Linked DNA regions of Homo sapiens: all the other regions are linked to region 1. Evidence: promoter capture Hi-C in 16 types of primary human blood cells and fetal thymus (Javierre and others, 2016). All regions are on one chromosome and are shown on one strand. Each heading gives the region's core, a stretch centred on a gene start or on the middle of the fragment in contact. The rest is flanking DNA. Distances are from core to core; before and after follow the strand shown.

Region 1 (3,451 bases), core at 417-2,916:
TTGACCTTGTGATCCACCCGCTTTGGCCTCCCAAAGTGCTGGGATTACAGATGTTAGCAACTGCACCCGGCCTCATTTTTATAAGATCACACAGAGGTTTTTTTGTTTGTTTGTTTTTGAAATGGAGTTTCGCTTTTGTCGCCCAGGCTGGAGTGGAATGGCGTGATCTCAGCTCACTGTAACCTCCGCCTCCCGGGTTGAAGCAATTCTCCTGCCTCACCCTCCAGAGTAGCTGGGGTTACAGGAACCCACCAACATGCCCAGCAATTTCTTTTTTTAACAAAACTCCTAACACCTCGTTAATCATTAATTAGTCTTTGGGTTTTGGTTCAACACCTAACATTTGCAAATCACACAATTATCTTTGTTCTTTCATTAGCGGAAGACACTTTCATTTGTTACCCTGAGAATATGAGACATTCACAATCTAATTCCTGACTACATTTGATTTCAAACAGATAGGAATAAGTTCCAGAATATAAAATATTAACTATTTGGGAGTATCTTGTGGGTATGCTCTAATTAAGAAATGCTTCCTTTTCCGAGGAAAACTGCTGACATTGCAAGAGTTATTACAAAGCCACAAATCTTAAGAAAATACATGTTTAACTGAAATTATAAAGATATTTTGCAAAAAAGGGAAATCGCTCCTGCTGGTGTTTTGTGTATAAATCTCTTTCTAACTTCAAGCTCTCTCAAGTTAGGGCAACAGTAAATGAAGTGGGAACAGTATCGCATTGGGAAATATCTGAAATGATACCTATGGGACTATCTAACGAAACTGAGGCCCAGAAGAATTGAAGTGACCTGTGCAATGACACCAATTTGTTAGCAGAGCCAAGATTAGAACCAAGTTTGGTGCCTTCCTGCATCCTTCCTGCATCGGTCCTTTCTCGGTGCTGCAGCAGCCTTTTACTTACTAATTTCACCCTGAAGAAAGGTAGACCATCCTGGCGTGGCAGAAGCGTGGACATTCGTTTTCTAAGGGATGGTCACACACCTTTGCCTATTTGCATTTAGTTTCTTTAAAAAGTAAAAACACCTCCATTTTGGAACACTTTTAGAGACAAAAGCAGAACATACGAAAGTGTATTTCACTGCTGAGTTCTTAAGAGGCGTACACCGTGTGGTTATAACGTGCGCAACTCTGTCCCGGGCAACTGAACTTATTTTTAGCGTTATTTTCGGCTTCTGCTGCAGAAAACTAGGGATTCAACTACCCGCACCTACGTTTCACACAACAGCACTCGTCTCTCTCCTTCACTCCTAATAAAAACACCTTACTTCGTTTATTCCTGCCTGCTCTACCTCGTCTCAACATTTTCTCTTGTTAACTTCCACCACACTGCCTTTTACTCGGATTGGAAACCCACTCTCCCCCAACTTCTGTCTCATACCCCCAACTTCTGTCTCATACCCCCAACTTCAGGAAGCGTCTTCCTTTTTTCCGCCTCTCGTTCGCTTTTGTCTTACGAGGCTTCCGGAACACGGCCCAGAATTACAGAGAAAACACACTGCGCACGCGCACTCTCTCGTCACCGCTGTGCGGCTTCTGTTTGGTTGGCCAGTTCGTCCCAATTTCCGACTCACAGGGCTGCGGAGCAGCAACTCTCACGATATTTGCTGCGACCCGCAGGCGCTATCCGCTGCCGGGTTCTGGCGCGCCCTTTCAGTTCTGCTTGCTGTCGGCACCGCTGCGTTACCCGGAACCGCCGGGCCGAACAGCATGACGTCCGCTTTGGAGAACTACATCAACCGTATCCTCAAGCTGGCCGCCGCGGGCGTGAGCCGGGGTCGCGGAGAGGCCGCGGTCGGGGATCGGTGGGAGGTTGGGAGGCCTGGCCTCGGCGGGATCCTGGGGGCGGGCGAGGAGATGAGGGCCCCGGAACGACCCAGAGTTCGCCGGCGGCGCCTCGAGCCTTCCCGCTGCTGCGGGCCCAGGGGTCCTTTCCATTTTGCCTGCAAAACCCAAATAAAAACCCAGTGTGATTATTCCGAACTTTTCTGTCTTAAAAAAAATGTACGCTCTTGATTCTTACTTACTATTTCCCTATGGCATAAGTGTTAAAGTTTGTGAATAAGATGAACAGTCGTCCTGGCGGCGACAACAGTTTTGCAAATCTTTGTACTTGTTTTATTCACATAATTTGCTCGTTCGAGGATAGCAAAAAGTTTAACGATGGTTCACAGACTGTTTCTGTCCCTTTACCACTTGAAGTCCCAACTTGTTGGTAGAATGAAAAAAAATGGTTGCTGTTGTAATGGATTATAGTGAGGAGCAAGTAACAACCCCATGGGAAGTCTTAAAATAGACTTTACAAGTGTTACCGTTTTAAAGTCTTAGGACAAAAACACTACGTTAAGCTCAGGTACAAACTGGGTGACAAAAATTAAATACCGAATGCTTTTAATGATGCGTTATTGGTACCCTGTGACACTGCTTATATAGTTTCTTTACTTTTGAATTACAGAAGCCTGTCCTGGAAGACAGTTTTTTAACATGCTGGAAAATCGTCCAACATCGATTAATTTAGTACTCATCCACTTTTCATTTTAGAAATAAACAGGCCTAAGAAACGAAATATCCTGCCTGAAATAATAGATTGGTAACCTTCCTAGTAGAAAAGTGTCAAAAATCCAGGATATTTTGAGATAAGATACACCGATCACATACAGAAAGAGGTTTTCTTTTTCTATTTTTTCCCTTTTTTAATCATGTAATTATCACAAAGACAAAAACAGAAGCTTTTTTTAAGTTTTTTTTTTTTTTTCTTTTTTTGAGTCGAGGGTCTCACTCTGTTGCCCAGGCTGGAGTGCAGTGGCTTGATCATGGCTCAATGCAACCTTGAACTCCTGAGCCCAAGCAATCCTCCTGCCTCTGCCTCTGCCTCCTGAGTAGCTGGGACTATAGGTCACCAGGCCAGGGTAATAGAGATGGGGGTATCGCTGTGTTGCCCAAGCTGGTCTCACCTCAAGTGATCCTCCTGCCTTGGCGTCTAAGAAACTTTTAACGTTTTTATGTAGTGAACTTAGTGGCTGTGTTGAATACTTATACCTAGTTGTCATATTTATTCTAAAAATTCAAATCATTCCCTTGCCAGAGTCTGTTTTCAATTTGCATTCCCTAAGAAACACTTTCTTTGATTCAGTTATCAGGAACTGTTGCCGTTATTACATCAGATGGGAGAATGATTGTGGTAAGTCTTTGGAATTTTCATTCTCTGCTTTCCTGTAGGTTTATTGGTTGCAAGTTTTATGTGAAACCTCTAATCTCTAATGCCTAGACAGCACATTACACCCGTAGTGCAATTTTATTATAATTCAGCTCTTTATCACTTTGCTGTCAATCCATGTTTTCCTCACTAATAAACATTGTGTGTTACCTACAAGGTTTCTCGGAGCTAGAATAATAGATTCTGCCCTCAGAGAGCTCCTAGTCTGTAGACCTTTA
Region 2 (3,451 bases), core at 515-3,014, 2.7 Mb after region 1:
AGAAATGCCTAAATACATGCTATGGAGACTGCTGTGCTTTGACCAAGGTACTAGAAGAAGACTGAGAATACACTTGACAGACAAGTGCTCCAGTTTATAGAGAAGAAATCTAAGGCTCTGAATTAGTCATAACCATAAGATCCTTCCTAATACATATATAGTATAAATTTGAATAGAAGTCATTCCTCTCACTTTTTTGGATAGAACTTTAATTTAATGTAATTTCTGTAAGTCATGTTCCTCTTTGTACTGACCTCTAGTCCTGAATTTGGGTGCGTTTTTTCCCCAAAAGTTTATTTTTAGCCATCATGAAACAGGAACTCTTTTAAAGTTATGATTTCTTGACCTATAAATTGCAAAATTGTACAATAATTTTCAAACTGTGGTCAATTATTTTTATTCCTACTGTGTTTTCAAAATATAAGTATTTACAAAAACAGTAATTAATTTGGGGTTTTAAATGTAAAGAAAAGTACATCTAACACTTTTCAATCATTGTTACTATCTGAGTTTCTCAGGGCCTAGAAAATCAACTGAGTTTTTGAGATACTCTTCATTCTGTTCCTCATTAAAACTTTATGCCCTACTCCTCATTTAATTGTTAAGAGATAATAAACCAATTCACAAAACATACTGATTTCTGACAACTCCCAAATAACAGGCATTTTTATCAGGAACAATGCATTGAATGGTGGCTTGTTTTGGTGAAGCTACTTTTGGAAGGAGGGCCTTCCCACACAAACACTTGCCAACCCTGCAAGAACACAGCTCTGGGTATCAAAATCATAATGGAATTATTCTGTGGATAAATGAGGACATTAGGACCAAATGGGATTTAAAGTAAGAAAAAAGTGAACAGTGCTGTGTTAATTCAAATCAAAGTGATTTTTATTGCTGTCTACCCCACAGACTGATATTTAAGGAAGCGATATTCCTTTATTGCCCTGAAAGTGCCATTGACTATAAACTACTTTCCTTTTTGTTATTTTCTTGCCTCTCCTCACCTTAACATTAAACCTTACTCTTTAGTTGCCGTAAAAAATGTTTAAAAGGCTTTCTAAAATATATTGGAAATATCTGGGAACTATTAATTGAGTGCTTACCACATGGCAGATATTAAGTCTTTCATCTTATGTGCTCTACCACACATAATATGTATTATCATCCTTACCAGATGGAGAAGACAGGAGCCTACAGAAGAGACCAAATAAATTACTCTCCAGTTCCCAAATGTATGTATGTGGTAGAACTGGCACTGGTACCCAGACCCAACTCCAGTGCCCATGACTTTAACCACTCTTCATTATAATGCTTCCAAAAGTCAGGCCCTCTTCTACAAACTTTACATATATCTACTCTTTTAATCTTTACAACAACCCTATGAAGTAGGAATTGTTACTATCCCCACTTAGAAGTGAGGAAACTGAGGCAAGGAACAGTTAAATACAGTCAGTGAGTTACGGATAAAACATTTACTCTTATGTTGTCCAACTCCTAAGCATGTGCTGCTAACAACTGCACCAACAAAAGTGTTAAATAAAGCTGAGTATATTTTGAAGACATGGCAATATATAAAGTTTAAAGATAAAGTCAAAATGTATCTCTAATATTTTCATAGCATTAAAAGCAATAAACTATACTTAACTAAAAACTTTTGATAGGAATCAGTCTTCAGAGATATTTTAATATTTGAATGATCCAAAAGCACCCTTTCAAAATTACATTATATTTTAGTTTATACAAGACAATGCAAAGATGGGCCTTTAAAACATGTATTTTTTTACAATATACACTAATAAAACGTTAAGTTAAAAACTGATCTTTTTAACTTAAAGGTTAATCAGTTTTAAAGATTTATTTTGTGCTAACAGTAGATAAAGTGTAAACTCATTTAAATAAATTTTGAGAAAACAGAAAGTAAATGGTTAATTGCTGATGATGTATTTGCAGACTGCAAAAAAAAAAGAAACAACAAAAAGGAAATTATGACTAATTCAGCTGCAGAAAAAAATAACTGAAAGAGAAGAAGGTGTGTATTTGTTTAAATCTGGGCTAACAGTCAAGTTGGAAGACATACGGAAATTGCATTTTCCTGTTGATGAATCAAATAAATTAAAGATTCTGATCTTGAAATATATGTTACCATCCATAATTTACTTCTTCAGTTGAGAATGCACACATAGTTTAAAGTAAAATACCACATGTTTGTGGTAAAGGGCCATAGTATTCAATATTTATCATCAAATTTCATTTATTGACATAGCTACCTCTAAAAGTTTACAGTAAAAATGAATAACACTGGTGCCTACTTTTGAGAAAGGAATGTAATAGCTACTAATATTAATGATACTAATCACCATCCTAAAAGCCAAATTGAACATGAGTGTGTGTTTGCAATGTAGAATAGAAAGGGAAGATAGGAGGTCAGTTTTATTAGATGTAAGTTTATGCAAGTGGTCAGTTTTTAATGGGGGTTGAAAGATTTTCTTAAATAATTCAATGAACATTGACTTTAAAGCTCTAAGTTTTAAAGGAATGAGAGAGAGATGAAAAAAGAACTTTCCATTTGAACAAAGAACTTAAAAAAAGGGGGCCAGAGAAGATAGCTCTAAAAGTTGTGAAGACATAGAGGTTGCCATCAACTCTTTTCCTACCAGATTATACTGCTTGGCTTTAAAGTAGAAAGCACTGTAAATGCGAGTGAGAAAGAAATCAGTTTCTCCTATGAAGAGAAATTAGTTAGGAACCCTCACAAGAGAAAATGATGTATTATATTTGATATATCATCGTTAACAAAAAGTGTCCAAAATGCTGAAACAAAAGCTGGAGTTAGGAATCTAGGGAGACTGTACATGATTGTGGGGATTTGACACTAAGAAAGTTTCATGGCAAGAGTTGTCCTTAATTTAGAAGGGAAAGACAGAGTTTATGTTAAACAGTAATTGCTGCAACTGACGACAAGGGAGAAAAAAATCCTTAAATAATTTATGCTTCTTGAAATTGTGCTCTAAATATTTATTTCTTGGCAAATTATAGAAAACAAATGAAACATCAAAAACAGAAAATGGTATGAAGTTAGAACTAAATCTCAATGTAATTGTCATATCATAAGTGAAATCTAATACATTAATCTATTAGATTGGCTATAAAATCAGTTACAATATACAACATAGAGATATAATATACAATATGCGATCAGATACAAGAGACATATTTAAAATAAAATGATCTCTAGGGAGATTGAAGGTAAAGGGCAAAAAATACTGACCTTGAAAAATAAGTTACAATATACAATATACAGATACAATATACAATCAGATACAAGAGACATATTTAAAAATAAAAGGACTCAAGGGTAAAGGGCAAAAAAAAAAATACTAATCATGAAAAATGTTGAGTTTGTAAAATTAGTATCAGGCAGTTATGAAATCAAAGCAAAAGGCATTAAAGA
Region 3 (3,451 bases), core at 370-2,869, 2.0 Mb before region 1:
ACTATCCTTAGCAGACTAACACAGGAACAGAAAACCTAATACCACATGTTCTCACTTATAAGTGGGAGCTAAATAATGAGAACACAGGGACACTTAGAGGGGAACAGGACACACTGGGGCCTTTTGGATGGTGGAGGGTTGGAGGAGGGAGAGGATCAGGAAAAATAACTAATGGGTACCAGGCTTAATACCCGGGTGATGAAATAATCTGTACAACAAACCCCCATGACACAAGTTTACCTGTGTAGCCAACTTGGCACTTGTACCCCTGAACTTAAAATAAAAGTTAAAAAAATAGTATTAAAGCCATTTAGACTCAGGCAACATGAGTAAGAGAAAGAATATAAGGGATAAGATCAGAGAAATGAAAGAGGAACCAGGTGCCTAGCAGGCTATGATGAGGACAATGAATATTATTCTTAGCATTAGAAAGCATTAGAAGGTTTTGAGCAGAGGAGAAACATGATTCAACTTATATTTTCAAAGGATCACCAAGTCACCCAGGCTGCTTTGTGGAGGACAGACTGGGGAGGGGGGTGCAATTACAGAAGCAGGAAGATGAATTGGAAGGCTACTGAAATAGTCCAGCTGAAAAAATTGGTCCCAACTCCCTTGATGATATATGCACATATATAAGAAAACCAGGTTTTCTTACTGCAGCCATTCACAGGGTCTTTCCTATATTACTATGGCAAGAGTCAAACTGGAGAGCCAAGAAATGTGTCTGCATATGCAGGAATATATATATATATGGCGCTATATGCAGGAATATATATAGCGCTATATACATACAGCTATAGTCAGAGATAGCATCATGATATGGATAGCAGGAAAGGAGGGCTTTGCTTTAACAGATGTACAAGAACAGAGTTTGTGTAGGAGAAGGAGGAGGAAGAGAAATTTTATTTGCTAAAGGTTAGTTATTTTGAAAATGTGTTCTTTGATGAGAAGGATCAGGAATCAGGATAGTCTAGATAGAAAACACAGAGGCAACATATGTGGCACACACACACACACACACACACACACACAAAACACCAAACAAACAAAAAGAAAGGCCTGTTGATCTATTTCTGAAGAGACATGAGAAGAGTTATTTAGAAAGAAGAGCCAGCAGGAGGCAATGTAGGCTTACAAAGTACAATAGGCACATCAGCCTAGAAATCTTCAATCAATCAATCAAACCTTTCATAATGTAACTAATAGGGAGGAAAACATACTGGGAGGCATAGGATTACTGTGAGCTGTTTTGTAAAATACTCAGTAGTCATTGGTTTCTATTGTTGTAACAAAATATCCCTTTGTTATATATGATTAGCAAAATTGCCAGTGCCTGCATTTACAAATCCTAAACTCTATAGAGTTCATTTTCCTAAATTTCAACTACATTTGAGCTAATCAATAAATGGTCCCCTGACAATATAGCCCAGAGTTTAATTCCAGAGAAACCAGGAAGGGACCACTGTTACCAGGAGCAGAGTATTATCCCAAAGAACAACTGCAAATTCAATTGTTCAGGTTGGTTGGAGGTCATGTTCTATGTTCTACATGAACAGGAAAAGGACAGAGGCATTGTCTGGGTAGTCCATCCCAAAGAAACCACAGGGCAAAGTCTGGGACAAAAGAAGAAACACTAAAGCTGCCATGCACTTGCATCTTGAAGTCAGAGCAGCCAGGAAAGCTACTGTTCCAAAAGCTGCTTGAGAACTTCTGAGACTATTAATGTTGGCACAGCTCAGTCCCACAGACCAGCAGCTCAATAGAAATCCCTGGAATTTCTAAAGGTATCTGATGTTTCTAACTTGCCACTACCAGCTGTCAGGAGTATACACTCAGCACAGTAAAGAGCCCACAAATGTGCCCAGTTTACCTGGAAACTACCTTTTCCTCTATATTAGTGCTGTATTCCTCTAAGGGGTTGAATAAGTAGGACACAGGCTGAGCTTCTGAAATAGAGACCCCAAATACAGTGGTATAAACAAAGTGTAAGTTTATTTTGTGCTCATTTGATTATGCAGAGATTAGTAGTCCCAGATCGGGTGAGAGAATCTGCCTTTCTCAACAGGGTGTTCCATCTCTGGGCCACCTTGGCTGTCCCAGTCGCATCACCTTCTAGTAACACACATCACTTTCTCTCCTATTCCTTTGGTCCCAACTAAGTCTATGAGAGGAACTGGGAAACAGAATGCCTACCGAGCAGCCACACACCCTTCAGAAACTCAAGATTTCTTTTTAAAATAAGGGGAGATGAATCCGGATAGACGTCTAGGAAACTCTGCCATGGGTAACTTGACAAATCATCACAAACGTGAGGCTTGAGAAGAGATTAATTGGGATTTTCCCTGTTTTATAGAAGAAGAAACTAAAATAAAGTTGTATGACATTTTTTTAACTCATTCAGAAAAATCTAGAAGTCAGTGGGTGACTTTCCTTGCTGTCATTCGTTATAAAAACTCCATGCTTATACACTTGTTTTTGTAAGCATTTACATCCTTTGTACATACACAAAATTTTGCTGGAAATAATTTTATTCCTCCTCCTATTACTTTTAAAATTATCAGTGGTCCAGAGTTCAAAGATTAAGAATTATAAAATAGACCATGGAAAATTTAGCAATAATTGAGCTCTCCATGTCTGGTACTTATGTAGAAGCATGTTTTAATAAACATCTGCAGAACATATGCTCAGTGGAAAACCCCTTTGACTGAGCAAGATTGAGAAATGTTTCACCCAGAATCATCACTCCCATTTCCAAATGAATGCATATAATTCCCCAGCAAGAGATTTTTAAGGCTTGATTCTTTTATGTTAAAGTAAATATGCAGGAAAATATTAAATAATTATGAATGTCTATGCAATATGATAATATTAGTAATGCTGCACCACAATTGCTGGGGGTGATAATAGGCATTTTACAAACATCACTTCTAATTCTGACAGCAATTCTGGGCAGATATTATAATAACCATTTTAAAACAGAAAATAAAGGCTTGAACAATTTAACAACCTTGCCCATAATTACACAGCTTGTAAGTGACCGACCTGGAAGGTCAGTGGAGATCTTTCAGTATTTAAAATTTGCATGGGACATGTTAAAGTAGCATTGTGTGTTGGCACTGCTGTTGAATCATAAATGTGCTCCATGGACTGTTTAAGTTAGACGGTGACCTTCTAGAAGGTGCCAGCCTTGAAATAACCACTACCTTCATTGTAAGTTCCCTTTCCATGAGTTTTCTTTTATTTTTACACCTTTGTTATTTTCTTTTTCTATTTTATTTAAGTATCAACAGGGAAAACAATCTAAGAAATGTTTACTATGTAATGAGCAATTTCACTTTTTAAGATATTAATATCAAACGAAGACCTTGGCTGATAGATTATAAGGAATAGAACGCACACTGTGAACTTAGAAATGACCCATATCCAACTTCAGTATGGTTATTTGTGACTT
Region 4 (3,451 bases), core at 499-2,998, 2.0 Mb before region 1:
GGTGGCTCATGCCTGTAATCCCAGCACTTTGGGAGGCCGAGGTGGGTGGATCACCTGAGGTCCGGAGTTCGAGACCAGCCTGACCAACATGGAGAAATCCCGTCTCTACTAAAAATACAAAATTAGCCAGGCATGGTGGCGCATGCCTGTAATCCCAGCTACTCCGGAGGCTGAGCCAGGAGAATGGCTTGAACCCGGGAGGCGGAGGTTGCTTTCACTCAGGAGGCTGAGGCAGGAGAATGGGGTGAACCCAGGAGGTGGAGCTTGCAGTGAGCCGAGACCGCGCCACTGCACTCCAGCCTGGGCAACAGAGCGAGACTCTGTCTCAAATACAAAAATAAATAAATAAATTCATTAATTAATTTTTAAAAAATTAAAAATAAAACACAAACACTGAAGAGAAGAAGCTTAGAATAAGGGAGGAAAGCATAATGATATAAAATTAAGTAAAGTAATATTTAGTTTGCTCAGAGGGAATAAACATCTTGTGAGAGAAAAAAATTAATGAGGTTCTTGGAAGTATTTCTCTATCTCTTAGACAATTGGTAATTATCATGAAATACTACTAGTCATTAACATAGAAAACTGGGCTAGACAGAGACCTAAGAGTTATACACCCATGATTAACTTTGATTGGAGAAAACCAATTGCAATGTATGAGATCTCCTTTAATACTACTTCCTTTAATTCCATGTCTTCCCCTTCCTGCCACCTCAATTTCCACCATTTAATTTGGCACATGATGCCTCTCATAATCTGGTCTCTCAGATCTCACTACCCCAAATTTTCGACGGCCCTTACCCACTATATGACCAGTGATCCGGTAGTGCCAAACTACTTTTAGTTTCTCAAGTAAGCTATCATCTTTGATGGCCATTTGTTTTGCATATTTTCTTCCCTCTGCTTAGAACAGTCTTACCATTACCTCGAAAAAGAAATCAGACTATATTAGTTTGCGAGGGCCACCATAATGAAGTACCACAGACTGGGTAACTTAACATAAATTTTCTCAGAGTTCTGGAGGCTAGAAGTCCAACATAAACAAGTCAGCACAGTTGATTTCTTCTATGGGGTCTCTCATTGGCTTGTAAATGGCTGTTTTCCTGTGTTTTCACATATTTCCTCTGTCCATGTCTGTGTCCAAATTTCTTCTTCTCATAAGGACACCATTCATATGAAATTAGGGCCTACCCTACTCACCTCACTTTAACTTATCTCTTTAAAGACAATATCTCAGAATACAGACACATTCAAGGTTACTGAATGCTATGACTTCAATATATGAATTTGGGGGGAGAGTAAAATTCAGATTATAACAGACAAATTCTTACTGTCTACAATACAGCTTTATAGTAATTTCTTCTAAGAGTTCTTCATCTTGAATCTTTCCATCTCAGTCTGAGTTAGGTCTCCTTCCTCAGAACTTCCAAAGCACTACCTGTATTCCTCTATCACATTAAAGGATATGTTTTCTCACTCTGCTCTAAGATGTGACTTTCTTTTCCTTATCCCAGCACCTACCCCTGTGCCTCACACCTGGTAAGTGTGCCATACTCTTTGTACCTTGAAGTATAAGCCCTCTAGCCTGGCTGTATTGTGATAGTATTTCATTGGATAGGAAATATAGAATTAGAAAACATAGACAATTAGTGCCTTTTTGTAATGTTGAGTTTAAGAGATATCTATATATAGAAATAAGTAGCAAGGAAGTGGAAATACAGGCATGAAACTCAACGGAGAAAACCATGCTGAAAGTATGATTTGGTGAATGGGTATGATCACTCAGGGAACATGTATAAATGAGAATAGCATGGAAAAATCTTTAAAGAATAACAAATTTTTGAAACAGCAGGAGAAAGAATAGAAATGTCAGAGAAGCAAAAGGAGGCTAAGAGAGAATAGTTTCTCTTCCCATTGATACTATTTTCCATACTAGCATCAAACTTTGCAGTGAGCTGTTTATCCTTTATATTGCCACCAGGGGTCTCCAACAACTTCTGCAATGCCTGACAGAACTCAAAGTATCTTATAGCTGTCTTTACAAGGGCTTTGGCAACAATAACATTCCTTGAGAAAGAAGACCAGGTAGGTGCCTCAAAACAGTGTTAGATATCCTTGACTGAGCTGAAGTCCGGAGGAGTCCTTTAAGTTACTCTTGGTCTGCAGCTTACTGACCACCAGGTAGTCTCTTGTACTGGCAACTTTGTCACACAATGAATCACTGAGACATACTCTCCCTATCAAGAATTGAGACTGGTTGTTCACCTACGACACAATGAAGCCCAATACATAGATTGCATAAGGTTTGATGAGCACCCAGAGCAGACTGAAAAGAACTGGATGTTCTGAAGAAAAAAATTAAATCATGTAATAGGGACTCTATTATTTTGATTCTAGAAATTATCTATCTTCAAAAAAAAAAAGATGAGAAAAAAATGTTTTAAGTCTATCTCCTAGAATAAAGAAAAATAAGATTAGGCTGAATAAAGCTGACATTTATTTCTTAAACTTTTTCCTTTTTCTAATTATTCCTGCAGACAACTGCAATTAACTTTTATATATATATGTACTTTCATATTAAATGTTTAGAATTTTCACTAACATGGAAACGTTTAGTACAGAAAAGTAAAGATTGAACAATATTACTCATAGACCTCCTACCTCATTAACATTTTGCATATTTGTTTCTTCCATATATGTTTTGTCTCGATGTGTCCGGAATTGGTGGGTTCTTGGTCTCACTGCCTTCAAGAATGAAGCCGTGGACCCTCGCGGTGAGTGTTACACTTCTTAAAGGCGGAGTATCCGGAGTTTGTTCTTTCTGTTGTTCAGATGTGTTCGGAGTTTCTTCCTTCTGGTTTGTTCGTGGTGTCGCTGGCTCAGAAGCGAAGCTGCACACCTTCGCGGTCAGCGTTACAGCTCTCAAGGCGGTGCGTCTGGAGTTGTTCGTTTCTTCCAGTGGGTTCTTGGTCTCACTGGCTTCAGGAGCGAAGCTGCAGACCTTTGCCGTGAGTGTTACAGGCCCGTAAAGGCAGTGTGGACTCAAAAGAGTCAACAGCAGCAAGATTTATTGCAAAGAGCAAAAAAACAAAGCTTCCACAGTGTGGAAGCCGGACCCCACCTAGTTTCCACTGCTGGCTGGGGCAGCCTGTTTTTATTCTCTTATCTGGCCTCAACCACATCCTGCTGATTGGTCCATTTTACAGAGAGCTGATTGGTCTGTTTTACAGAGAGCTGACTGGTCTGTTTCGACAGGGTGCTGATTGGTGCATTTACAATCCCTGAGCTAGACACAAAAGTTCTCCATGTCCCCACCAGATTAACTAGATACAGAGTGTGGATTGGTGCATTCACAAACCCTGAGCTAGACACAGGGTGCTGATTGGTGTGTTTACAAACCTTGAGCTAGATACAGAGTGCTGATTGGTGTATTTACAATCCCTTAGCTAGA

The links. The method cuts DNA at HindIII sites, captures the fragments that hold promoters and counts their contacts. A CHiCAGO score of 5 or more calls a contact.
Region 2: a fragment that was not itself captured here is called in contact with the fragment with the promoter of LSM8 in region 1 in 1 of 17 cell types (non-activated CD4 T cells); the score reaches 5.8 in non-activated CD4 T cells.
Region 3: a contact is called between a fragment that was not itself captured here and the fragment with the promoter of LSM8 in region 1, in 3 of 17 cell types (total B cells, naive B cells and total CD4 T cells). The highest score is 8.2, in total B cells.
Region 4: a fragment that was not itself captured here is called in contact with the fragment with the promoter of LSM8 in region 1 in 1 of 17 cell types (total B cells); the score reaches 7.1 in total B cells.

Annotation. Positions count from the first base shown.
Region 1 is chr7:118,182,498-118,185,948 of GRCh38, forward strand. LSM8 (LSM8 homolog, U6 small nuclear RNA associated) reads left to right here and starts at 1,667. Exons shown (of 4, transcript NM_016200.5): 1 at 1,667-1,757; 2 at 3,157-3,197. The coding sequence starts at 1,727. LOC105375470 (a long non-coding RNA gene) reads right to left here and starts at 1,471. Exons shown (of 4, transcript XR_927904.3): 1 at 1,418-1,471. The HindIII fragment of the contact is 4,305 bases long and covers 1-2,743 here.
Region 2 is chr7:120,929,372-120,932,822 of GRCh38, forward strand. No RefSeq gene overlaps it. Among named protein-coding and RNA genes, the nearest start is that of ING3, 20 kb to the right of the region's middle. The HindIII fragment of the contact is 3,941 bases long and covers 1-3,451 here.
Region 3 is chr7:116,162,055-116,165,505 of GRCh38, forward strand. No RefSeq gene overlaps it. Among named protein-coding and RNA genes, the nearest start is that of TES, 47 kb to the right of the region's middle. The HindIII fragment of the contact is 5,978 bases long and covers 1-3,451 here.
Region 4 is chr7:116,178,418-116,181,868 of GRCh38, forward strand. No RefSeq gene overlaps it. Among named protein-coding and RNA genes, the nearest start is that of TES, 30 kb to the right of the region's middle. The HindIII fragment of the contact is 2,686 bases long and covers 406-3,091 here.